Linked DNA regions of Homo sapiens: regions 2 and 3 are each linked to region 1. Evidence: promoter capture Hi-C in 16 types of primary human blood cells and fetal thymus (Javierre and others, 2016). All regions are on one chromosome and are shown on one strand. Each heading gives the region's core, a stretch centred on a gene start or on the middle of the fragment in contact. The rest is flanking DNA. Distances are from core to core; before and after follow the strand shown.

Region 1 (4,063 bases), core at 1,294-3,793:
AGCCGGCCCGCCCCGCCCCGCTCACAAGTGGTCGCCGCAGGTGGCTGTGCGCCCACCCGCCCGCCCTCGGGCCGACGCGTGCGGGATCAAAGCGGCCGGGAAGGGGCGGGGAGGGGAGGTGGCAGGAACCTGGAAGTGTCAGCGAGCTTCCCAGGGGATGGCAGGAGCGTGGGAGCGCAGAGTCCCGGGAGGCGACAGAGACTCGGAGAGACGACGAGATACCAGAGACCCGAGAGAGCCAGAGGCGGAGATGCAGACGCCAAGACGCGGAGAGACGCGGAATCAGAGATGCGGAGGGAGGAGACCACCAACACCAGAGAGACCCAGGGCAGAAGTCGCTGAAGATCTGGAAAAAACGTGAGAGATACAGAGATGGAGGAGCTAAGAGACACTCAGAGACCCGGAAAGGAGGCGAGACAAAAAAGGCATAGACCCATAGACTTAAGAAAAGAAAGCGTGCTTCAGAGAGAACGGAAAATAACAGAGGAAGAGAGGTGGAAAGAACAAGGGATGTAGAGTGGGGGGCGGGGAGACCTGGCCCTTCCCCCGCGGGGGGCCGAGATCCGAGCACTGTGTCCTTTCTCAGGGTCACGCCTGCGGAGGTGCGGGCCGGGGACGGAGGGAGGGGGGTGTGGAGGCTGCAGGACCCCCATGCTGGGAGGAGGGGAGTGCGAGGGCGTGCGGAATCGTTTAGGCCTGGGGCTGCAAACTCTGCTATAGTCAAAAGGTTAAGATTAATATTTGGTAGAAATATTTAAGTGAAGATGTTTCTTAGAAATGCTACCAAATATATTATCCTTTTTTTGGAGGGGAGAAAAGAAAACTGTACTCGTGCATTGGCCGGGAATCGAACCCGGGCCTCCCGCGTGGCAGGCGAGAATTCTACCACTGAACCACCAATGCGCGGCTTAAAGATTCTGCGGGGATCCTATCTGAGATTGTAAGAGGTTGAGGCGGACCCGGACAGGCAACGGTGTAGGCCAGGGAAGTGGTCCCGAATGGTTGCCGTGGGTGGAGCGCCAAGTCATCCTTCCTCTCGTCCGGATCCGGCCACCGGGCCATAAAGCCGCCCCATATGGCCAGGGGCGGCCCCACACCCGGGTGCGAACAGCCGGGGGCCCCCAGCCTCGCGTGCAGGTGAGAAAAATTCAGCCCGAGCCCAGGTTCCCAAGGAGGGGGGCGGCGGGGGCTGATGGGGACACACATTTGCGTTCCCATTTGGCTGAAGGACGGAGAGGTGGGATGTGCTGGGGGCCCTGATCCCAAATGGGAGCCCCCTCCTCAAGGTCTGTGCCTCTCCCGGCTCGGGCTATGATGGCAAGAAAGGCTTCGTGACAAAACCAAGGTGCGGAGGGCCGTTGGGAGGGCTTGAAGGAAACCCCATTGGTCTCTGATTTCACAGCTGTCTTCCGTCTCGGTCTGCAACCCTGTCTTTCCGTGTCTTTATCCCTGGCAACCTGGCTGTTCCCTTCAGTTTCTGATTTATCTTCTCAGACACTTTGTCCTGAAGCCCTCGAGTGGTCAGGCATCGTTCTGCGGAGGGTCATGCTCTTGGTTTGAGGTGGGTGTTGATCCCTTTTTTGTACCCCTTGCTTTCCCCTTAGTAAACTGCCTGCTCCCTGCTACCCTACAGTCACCAGGGGCCTCCAGAAGCAAGCAATGCGGGCACACTTGCGTGAGGTGTCCTATCAGCCACACTCCTGAATCTCCTATGACTAGTTTTGAATCAAATACTTGTACTGTAAGTGGAAAGACCTCTCCACTCATACCTATGTTTCAAAGACTTGCTCCCTCTGCCTTGAAGATCCTCCTCAGTCCAGCCATCCTTAAGGAGACCTTTTCCCGGAGCACCTACTTCACTGGGCTTCTGTAATAGCTACTTGGTGTCACATGGTCTTTTCCATTAGATCCTGCAGGGATAAGCTGGGTCTCTCCTGCGTATCTCACTATGACTCGCCCGAGCCTAGACAAGTGCCCTGTCCGCAGAGTGGGCGCGCAGATGTTCGCGGACTTGAATGTAACTGGCTTAGATAGAAGAGAGCGCCTCTCCAACCTCCCGGCAGAGCTTCGGTTGAGTCGGACAGATTCACCCAGCGCACTCGGGTTGCTCCCTGTCTCGACTAGGAAGCGAACTTCGGAGATGATGTATAAAATTCAGCCTGGGGGCTGAGAGGTGCTAACTTCTATTTCAGGGTTAGTGAGGGTACAGTAAGCCTCCCAGAAAGCTGCAATTCTGGAGGAACTCTGAATTTCATCCCCAAGCGAGCTCTGCCCCAATAGCCTCCTCCTTTCAGCTGGGTCCCGCCTCCTTATACAGCCTTACGGTCTGTAAACCAGCCAGTGCCCCCATTCACCCCTCACTTCCCGCACTCCCAGGCCAGTTTCTCTCCTTCCCCTCCCCCCTTCACTCCTCCTCTTTCCGGGAGCCTCGTGCCGGGTCCTAGAGGGGCAGAATCTGGATGTCGAAGGGGGCGGGGTCGGGTCCTATCCCTCCTACCCTTGGGCCGCGGAATATAAGGCTCCAGGCGAGCAGGGAACCGGTCCACACAGGGTCCGGAGGAGCAATGGTCACCCGGGATCGAGCTGAGAATAGGGACGGCCCCAAGGTGAGAGGCGGGAGGGGAGGGAGCAGAGGTCCCTGGTTTGGCTAGGGGACTGGGCCCCTGACGCCGTCGGTCTGGAGAGAGGCTGGGGACGCAGGGGTGGAAGGGGAGCGGTGCTCCAGAACTCCAGGAGCCAGAAGCTGGAGAGGAAGCTGCAAAATATGAAGAAGGGGACAGGGGTCAGAGCCAGACCTGAGTGGGCGGCGGGAACATAGGACTAGGGGCCTCGGTAATGGGTGTCGGCACCTTGTGGCCTGGGGAGGGGGCCGGTGTTGGAGTAAAATAAGCAATTAGAGGGCAGAGCCAAGGGAGGAGGGTGGGAACGAAAAGAGAAGAGGATAGGCACTTGCTCCACTCTGGCTGTGAGCCGGGCGGGGCTGGCCCAAGGCGGTCTTGTACAGAAGGTCCCGGGGCGTTGGTTCCAGAGGCCCCAGACTGGTGGAAGATTTTAGGAGAACCGTGGAGAAGGTGAAGGCCTGGAGGGTTTTGAGGGAAAAGAGGCGGCGCGGTCGCGCTAGGTATCTCCCTTTCTATACTCAGGGCCGCCAGGTCTGAGCCCGGCACCGTGCGGCGCACGTGCGTGCGCGCAGAGAGTCCCCAAAGTTCTCCACTGAGACAAAGAGAAACTGCACCAGACGGAGACGTAGAGAGAAAAGAGGAGGAGAGACACAGAGAGGGGAGGAGGGAGGACGAGACTGAGAGAGGAGAATGCGAAGATCCGGGGAGGCGAGCTACAGAAACTGATCTAGGGGCATTGGGAGGGGGAGCGGAGAGGGATCGAATGGGGCCGGCCCTAGGCAATCTGGGGTCTTGTGGCCGGGGTGGAAGCCGGGCTCTCCCAGCGGCGGGATCCGACGCCGGGGCGGCCGCACTGAGTCTCGGTCTGGTCGGCCCGCTCTCCTTTTCTCGCTGGTCGCAGATGCTCAAGCCGCTTGTGGAGAAGCGGCGCCGGGACCGCATCAACCGCAGCCTGGAAGAGCTGAGGCTGCTGCTGCTGGAGCGGACCCGGGACCAGGTCAGTCCCTCCGCTAGCCCTAGGTCCCCAAGCTTCCCGTTTCCGCGTCCCAGGGCTTCCCACTGGGGTGGGGACACAAGCTTGGTTGGCAACCCTGGCCCCAAGGCATCCTCACCCGAGTCCCGCCTTTGGAATTCCATCCCAGACCCCCACTCGCTCTCAGAACGCGATCTTCTTCGCCACCCCTCGGGTCTGTAAGTTTCACGCCTGGTTCTGTAAATTTCGCTCCCGGGGTCGGTCAGTTTCACCCTTTGGGTCTCTAAGTGTCCGGTTCCCCCTCCCCCACAGCCAGCCTCTGATGAGCCAGCCTCTGTTATGTCGGGTGGTTAATTTCATTCCCTGGGTTGCGGTTTCAAATCTCCTCCTCACGCGTTGGGCATTGGTTCCAACCCCTAGGATTGGACAGTTTCGTCTCAGGGTGGGCCAGGACTTTCCTTGGTCATCT
Region 2 (4,343 bases), core at 1,330-3,829, 200 kb before region 1:
AACCCCGTCTCTTCTAAAAATACAAAAATTAGCCAGGAGTGATGGCACACACCTATAATCCCAGCTACTCAGGAGGCTGAGGCAGGAGAATCACTTGAACCCAGGAGGTGAAGGTTGCAGTGAGCTGAGATCGTGCCACTGCACGCCAGCCTGGGCAACAGAGCAAGACGCCGTCTCAAAATAAAAAGATTAAAAATATGAAATCTTTTTAAATATTTATTTATCGTCCCCATGGATCATCATATATATGCTGCTTCCAGAACACTTTGAATATATCCAGAACTCTCGAGTGAGACTGTCAGATGCAAATGCTGTCTCTGCCAATTGCTAGCTCTGTGAACCTGAAATACTTGACCTCTTTGTGCCTCAGTTTCTTCTGAGAGAATGAAACCAACATGCAACGTTCTGTATTTTCATTCTGGTATTCTTTTATTTATTTTTTCCTTAGAATTGTCCATGTCAATCTGTCGTGATTTTACTCTCACAAAGACAAATCAAAAATCATTAAAACAGCTTTTCTTTCAGCAGCATAATGATGGTATTTAGTATTTCACAAAATGAAGCACTGTAATTCCAGCTTGCTTTTCACTCTGACATTCTAAATGCCCAATCTAGTCTTTTTTTTTTTTTTTTTTTTTTTTGAGACAGCGTTTCACTCTTGTTGCCCAGGCTGGAGTGCAGTGGTGCCATGTTGCCTCACTGCAAACTCCGCCTCCCGGGTTCAAGCGATTCTCCTGCCTCAGCCTCCCAAGGAGCTGGGATTGCAGGCATGTGCCACCACACCAAACTAATTTTTGTATTTTTAGTAGAGACGGGATTTCACCATACTGGTCAGGCTGGTCTCGAACTCCTGACCTCAAGTGATCCACCCGCCTCGGCCTCCCAAAGTGCTGGGATTACAGGCGTGAGCCACCGCGCCCGGCCTGGTCTCGTCTTAAATAAAATGGCAAGCCATGATGAGGACCAAATTGAAGCAACTTTGGCGAAGTTACCTATTGTAACAAGCAGGCCGACTTGAGGTGGACCTGCCCACCTCAGATTTGCATCCTACCATTTGGGAATTCATTGCGTGATCCACAGAGTCTGAACAGGAAGGCACACAGGAGAGGAAGAGCTGCCAGTGAGATAAATGGCCTCTCTGGAATAGCTAAGAGTACAATTGTATTGTGGATTATCTGAATCAGTTAGGACTCTGTAGCTAATAAAAGAAAGGAGATTCAAACTGGTTTAAGGGATAAAGGGAATTTAATGACCTATAGAACTGAAAAATCCAGGCTGGTCTCAGTGGCTCGTGCCTGTAATCCCAGCACTTTGTAAGGCCCAGGCGGGCAGATCGCCTGAGGTCAGGAGTTTGAGACCAGCCTGGCCAACATGGTGAAACTTCATTTCTACTAAAAATACAAAAATTAGTGGGGCATGATCGCAGGCGCCTGCAATCCCAGCTACTCAGGAGGCTGAGACAACAGAATCACTTGAACCCAGGAGGCAGAGGTTGCAGTGAGCCAAGATCATGCCATTGCACTCCAGCCTGGGTGACAGAGTGTGACTCCATCTAAAAAAAAAAAAAAAAAAAAAAAATTAGCTGGGCATGGTGGCGCATGCCTGTAGTCCCAGCTACTAGAGAGGCTGAAGTATGAGAATAGCTTGAACCTAGGAGGCAGAGGGTTGCAGTGGGCCGAGATCGTGCCACTTCCTTCCAGCCTGGGCAACAGTGCGAGATCCTGCCTCAAACAAACAAACAAACAAAAATAACTGAAAAATCAAGATAAAAGCTTCAGATGAGACTTGATCCTGGAACTCAAGTGATGATAACAAGGACCTGGCTTTCCCCTTGTCTCTCCATTTCCAGTTTTGTGGTGTTGGCTCCTTCATCAGGCTGTATCCAGTGGCCTCCCCAGCAACTCCAAGCTGCCTCTCACTGCACTAAAATGGCAGCCACTGATCCAAACCTTATATCCTCACACTGCAATGTCCAGGGGAAGAGAGAATGGCTCATTCAAGTGGCTCTTGGGTGGGTCTCGAATTAACTGTCTCTGAACTCATTGATCCAAATTGGGACACATACCCATCTCGACCCAATCACAATAACCAAGGGTTGTCGTAAATCAAGGAAGAGTAGCTGGGCGCAGTGCCTCCCCTGTAATCCCAGCACTTTGGGAGGTCGATGGGGGTAGATCATGAGGTCAAGGGTTCAAAACCAGCCTGGCCATATGGTGAAGCCCCGTCTCTACTAAAAATATAAAAAATTAGCCGAGTGTGGTGGCGCACGCCTGTAGTCCCAGCTACTCGGGAGGCTGAGGCAGGAGAATCGCTTGAACCCAGGAGGCGAAGGTTGCGGTGAGCCGAGGTCACGCCACTGCACTCTAGACTGGGTGACAGTGTGAGACTCCGTCTAAAACAAAAACAACAACAACAACTCAGGGTCACTTTCAAATCCAATTTTTAGTCAATATTTTGTATTCTTTATTGTTAAGGTTCCCCAAAAGTCTGGATTCAATCCCAACGCTTTCTCACAGAGGGCAGCTTCAGGTTTCTAACAGTGGACGGAGTGAGAGAGGCTTCGGGTCAGCGGTGGTTGTGAGGCAGTTTGGGCGCAGCCCACGGCTTCATGCCCCGCGGCGGGGGCACGTGCAGGCACCAGCTTGAAAAACTCCATCGGGCGTGGAGCTGACCCATTCGGGTCCGAAGCCAAACCTAGTCGGATCAAGCAGCTGAACGCAGGCCCCGGGACCTGGTGACTGCCGTTGCGACCTCGAGAGTGCTGCGGGTGGGTGGGAAGGAGGAGTGGCTAGCTCTGGGGACGTCGGGCAGTGTTCTGAACAGCGGGAGCCAGTGCCTCAACTTCCCCAGGATTCTTCCGCGGGAGCAGCCCACTCCCATACTCCGCCCCGCGTGGGAGGCGAGCGCTGAGAACCAGGAGACACAGCCAGGCCAGGAGACCCCAGAGTCCAGCCAGAAGACGTGCTGAGACCCCGCTGCAGGAAGCCCTATGGCCGCGCTGCGCTCACTCACTGAGTCCGGGTCTCCGGCAGAGAGACAGGGGCAGCCCCGCGGGAGGGGCGGGCGCGGGGCCAGAGCGGGGCCTGGCCACGTCCGGGAGGATGAACGGAGCCCCGCTAAGGTCGGGAGGACTTCGAGGAGCTCCAGCGCTCTGTTCCCCTTGGTGTCGCCCGAGGCTGATGGAGGGTGGTGAGACCGTGGCTTGGAGACGACGTGCTGGGGAGCAAGGTCGGGAGCCCGCCAGGCTCGCGGTGGAGCTGTCGCTGGAGAGGCACTGCTGCACCGGGACGGTGGGCTGGTGGGCTGGCCACCCTGGAGAACCTGAGCCTGCAGTTACCTCTGTAGCTGAACCTGCGAGTATGGAGGGTTTAGGAAAGAGAAGCTTTCCGAGATGGCTGGAGAGCCAGCCAGGCTGAAGGGCTCCGGAAAGGATCACAGGAAGTGGGCTGGAGGGTTCCTTGCGGGTGGAAGGAGGAGGAGAGAGCTAGTGAGCAGGCTTGGGGGCCGGGGCGTGGGGGGAAGAGGGCGAGGCTCCTCTCTTTCCTCTGTTGCTTGTGGGCATGATTGCAACCCCCACCCCCGTTTATCTGCGATGTTGGCCACTAAGATCTTGACCCGGAGCCCACAGAAGGCCAGCTCAAAGAGAGGCCCGTGCCCTTTACTATCTGCCTTATCTTGTAGGAAAAGAAAAACTTTTTATCTGAGGGGGGCAAGGCTTTTAAAATTATCAGGCCCATAGAGAGGATCGCTTGAGCCCAGGAGTTCCAGACCAGCCTGGGCAACATGGCAAAACGCCGTCTCTACAAAAAATACAGAAATTAGTCGGGTGTGTTGGCTCCTGCCTGTGGTCCCAGCTACTCAGGAAGCTGAGGCAGGAGGATCGCTTGAGCCCAGGAGCTCGAGGCTGCAGTGAGCCAAGATCGTGCCACTGCACTCCCGCCTGGGTGACAAAGCCAAATCTTGTGACAAAAAAAAAAAAAAAAATCAGGGCCAGAGAGGAATTAAAATGAGACAACAGTGACATCCCATTACCCCCTTTGAGCTAGGTATTCACCTCTTTAACTGCTTGCATTGGCTTGCTCTTGCCATAAGTAGCTATGAATTAACCTGGTAATGCCACACTGGACACTATAACCCACCCCCTATAGCTTAACAGTATATAGCCAATCACTAATCAAAGAGCTTCCTTTAAACCAATGAGAATTCCTAACAACTTTGTATCAGCCCACAGCCCACTCCCTGTCCCCCTTTTTTGCCTTTGAAAACCTGCTTGTAACAAAGCCCTAATGGAGCTCATATCCAAGGTTACTTGGGTCTGAGTCTTCCTGGCAGCCGTCCTCCCT
Region 3 (3,843 bases), core at 1,122-3,621, 240 kb after region 1:
AAATTGAGGAAAGACTTTTTTTCCTTCTCTCTTTCCTCCCAAGAGAACAAGAAAGGGGGATTTAAAATATATATATATATACATATATATATATATATATATGTATATATATAAAAGTTTTCGACTTCTCTCTGCCCCCCTCTCCGTTGCTTTAAATATATTTAAATTCTGAGGGGGGCGCTCAGAAATATTTCTCAGAGCTGAGGCACTAAGATGGCCGCCTTGAAATTATTTTTAAAACAACCCCCCCTCCAGCACCGCCACCCCCTCCATAAAGAAAGGGAGAGGGGGGAAAATCCCCTTTTCAAACAAAATGGCTGGCTTAATATTTCATTTTTCACCCCCCCATTCTCCTCCCTGTTACACCCCCATCTCCAAGCCTTTACCCAGAAACCCACAAATTTCTCCTTTTTCATAACTGATTAGTGCACAGATTAATAGAGATATTTTCCTTGTGTACTGAAGTGTGTGTGTGTGTGTGTGTGTGTTGGGGGGGCATGAAGGATTTCTGCATAAAACAAAAATGGCTGCTGTGACTAACTCCCCCCTTATAAAAAATATTTGAGGGGGGGCATTAATCAGTACTCATGCTCAGTCTGACATCAGCATAAATTGTTAAAGGTTAACTAGTTAGATACTAGTCCAACTAGATTTAATTTTTTTTATTTTCTTTACTAGTCTCTTCCTCCCCACCTCCCTTCTCTAAAGAAAAGCTTTTTTTTTTTTGAATACTTCAGAAGGGAGTGGTTTGATGTGAAGGTTTTTTTCCCCTTCAGGCATTGAAAAGGAAAAAGATGAAATATATGTTTATATATAACTCTGTTTCTACATACCTCATTGAAGTCACAACGCATTTAATTGTGTACATATCTTTTAAATGAGAAGCGGGACTGGATTTTTTTCTGCTTTCTTTAAAAAAAGTGATAGAAATCCTAGTGACTTTTGGGGGAGAGATATGAATAGATACGATGATTGAGTTTTTTTCAAAGGAGTCCATGTTTGATTCTCCCCTTTACCCAGCCTTTTCAGTGATTTATAATTGTTATAAATTTTATCTTTACTCTTTTCCCCTTTCCCTCGCTTTCCCCTCCTCCAATTGTTAGAATGTAAAATTCAACTGACTTGAGAAATTAATTTGGGGGGTAAACAACAAATTTTTAGGATAAAGAGGAAAGAGTCAAATCTGAAGATCGTGAAATTATGTTCTCTTTTCTTCCGTTTCAGTATATTTGCCTTCCCTCCATGATCTCCAACACTATCCGATAAAGTAGAAGCAACTGAGGTACCGTGAAAGAGAAAGGAGCTGGAACTGAGAAAAAGCAGAGGTAGGGGTTATACCCAGGCGTTTTCATCTAACTTTCTGACCTGTGATTTCCAACTGTACCCCAGTGTTTATGGTAAAGTGGTACCAGGAATTGGACAGTTGGAAAGGAGTCCCAAAGTAGCTTTCTCATACAGAGATTTGCCCAGAGAGGTCTAGACAGAAAATGATCCTTGCCAAATGGAGCAAAGGAAGGAGGGCAAATAGCTCAGTTCTACCCTCTTTCATTCTTGTTGACCCTTTCTTACTCTAGCTTCCTCCCATTCCTTTGATCTCCCTTTGCCCCTTCCCTTGCTTCCCATTCCATGCCTGTGGAATCATTTCTCTCTGGGTTATTCCTCTACCTCTCCAGTGTAACTGCTGGCCACCCATCTTCGGCGGTGCTCAGGAGCACCCTGAGAGGGAGGGGTAGGTGGGCAGCAACCAGAAAGTATTAGTGACTGGGAAGATGACGCACATTTTTGTTTATGAAGCTAAAATGTTCTTTATTAATGTTCCACTCCCCACACTAATGCACTTTATTGGGTGTTGGTTTCCATCTCTTTTTTTTTTAACCTGGCCTTTGGAATTCTCTTGCTTTGGTTCCCACATCATTTCTGTACTAAGTCTAACTCCTCCTCCTTTTCCAGTTTTCCTGTCGATTTTGCTCTCTTGTCTTCTTTCTCTGTCCCTCTTTACTAGTTCATCTGGTTATCCCCCCCTTTCTATATTGTGGGCTTCTCTCTATTTATGTCTTTGTTTTTAACTGAGACTATCCTTCTCATCCCTTGGACCCTCAGGCTCTGTCACCTCTACGTGACTTTCCATCTCTGTCTTCTTTCTGCTTACTTCTGTCTTCCAGTCTCTGACTGTGTGTGGCTCTTCCTCATGTGTGCCTGACTCCCCCTCTTTCTGGCCCCTTCTGTGTGTGTCTGTGGATCATACTGTGTATGGGAAGTGTCTCCACGTGTATGTGGGCCACACTGCGCATCATGTGCGCCGCAGCCTCTCTGCCTCTGTGCCCTCTCCCTATACTGAGAGCCTCTGCTTGCCACATGTGCCATGATCTGCAGGTGCGGGTGGCTAAAGGTGGCCGTGTGCATCCCTATACAAACACTCATCATTCTCTCTCTTGAGTGTGCTTTGCATGTGGATTTGCTAATTTGCCTTATTCTCCCTCTCATCCATCCTCCCTTTTGCCTGTCTGCATCTCTTTCTGTTCTCTCTCTCTCTCTCCTGACCTCTTGATTTTTCTTCTTCTCTCCTTATTTCTGCCTCTTTACCTGCTTGCTCCTGTTATGGTGTCTGCCTGCCTGCCTGTCTGCTCCTCCCTGACTGGCTGGCAGCCTCTTTTTCCTCTCTGGTTGTCTGTCTGCTTCTCTGGCTGTTTGCCCACCACTCTCTCTCTAGCCATCTGTCTCCCCGCCTGCCTGTCTCTATCACTTTTTTAGCCTGCATCTCTCGGTTTGTCTACCTTCCAGGCCCTGCCACGGCTCCCCATCTTGGTTTGCCTCTTCTCTTGCCCTTCTGCTTGTTCCTTCTCTTATTTGTGCCTGTTAAGTTCCTCCTTTTCCCTTGCCTCCCTTTAGATCTCTCTTGCCTGTCTACCCTGTTTGCTGCTATCCCACCGTTTCAGGCTTTTCTCTCTTTAGTCTTCATACTTACCAGCTTTTTCTTCCTTTGCTTCTTCTCTGCCAACTTCCATCAATGAGGATAGTCTCTCTCCCCTAAACCTCTCAGTAACCCCTTTGCCTCAAAGTCTTATCTAACTTCTTGCCACATCCCCTACCCTGCCTTCTCTCACGTTTGCCTTTATTTCAGTTATCTCTTTTTCTGTCTTTCTGGTTCCTCAGACAGTCTGCCTGTCTCAGTCTTTTTGCCATTTTCCCAGTCTCTCGCTGCCTTCCTGCCTTTTTGCTGTCTGCTTGGCAGGCTCTTGCTGTCCACGTCTCTTCTTGCTTTTCTCTCTTCTTTTGTTTCTTTTTCCAGTTAACTTCTAAATAGGTAGTACATACTTATGGTACAACATTTTAAAAGTACAGAAAGTGTACTGTGAAAAGTAAACCTGTCTCCCATCCTTCTCCCCTAGTCCCGGAGTTCCTCTCCTCAGAAGCAGCCACTGTTTCACATTTCCTGGATACTGCTCCAGAGAAAAGTCTACACATATACAAGTCTTTTTGCTTGCTTGCTTTTGCTTGTGTTTTGCTGTACTCCTCCCTACTTTTCTTCCAGTTTTTCTGGATGCTCCTTCCTCTGTCAGTCTGTCAGTACTCCTAACTAACTTGGCTGGGCTTGCCATCTCTGGTCTTTTTGATTCTACCAAGTGTTACCCAAAGCACGTGTCTTTTGGATTGACTAGTTACTGGTTGCATGCGTTCACTACCAGTACTTGAGGAGTGCTCAGGAAGGCTTTACTCTCTCCAAATGTAGTCTACTCTGCATGGTAAGTGGTCTGATGCCAGCAAGACATCTTTGTTGGTCGCTTCATCACTGAAATGTGTATTGGAGAAGGCATGAAAGCACCGGTAGTACTAAAAAGTACC

What was found. Contacts are between HindIII fragments. The CHiCAGO score rates a contact against its expected background, and 5 or more counts as called.
Region 2: a fragment that was not itself captured here is called in contact with the fragment with the promoter of HES7 in region 1 in 2 of 17 cell types (erythroblasts and megakaryocytes); the score reaches 5.7 in erythroblasts.
Region 3: a contact is called between a fragment that was not itself captured here and the fragment with the promoter of HES7 in region 1, in 1 of 17 cell types (monocytes). The highest score is 5.6, in monocytes.

What each region holds. Positions count from the first base shown.
Region 1 is chr17:8,122,586-8,126,648 of GRCh38, reverse strand. HES7 (hes family bHLH transcription factor 7) reads left to right here and starts at 2,543. Exons shown (of 4, transcript NM_001165967.2): 1 at 2,543-2,606; 2 at 3,523-3,618. The coding sequence starts at 2,565. It overlaps TRG-GCC2-6 (tRNA-Gly (anticodon GCC) 2-6), which reads right to left and starts at 903; the gene lies at 833-903. RefSeq lists silencers at 1-134, 815-864, 975-1,024 and enhancers at 215-274, 87-888, 2,165-2,685. The HindIII fragment of the contact is 4,110 bases long and covers 1-3,652 here.
Region 2 is chr17:8,325,825-8,330,167 of GRCh38, reverse strand. LOC124900396 (small nucleolar RNA SNORA69) reads right to left here and starts at 585; the gene lies at 449-585. The HindIII fragment of the contact is 1,610 bases long and covers 1,775-3,384 here.
Region 3 is chr17:7,880,717-7,884,559 of GRCh38, reverse strand. It overlaps a transcript of NAA38 not described here. Among named protein-coding and RNA genes, the nearest start is that of CHD3, 6.2 kb to the left of the region's middle. The HindIII fragment of the contact is 3,311 bases long and covers 716-3,843 here.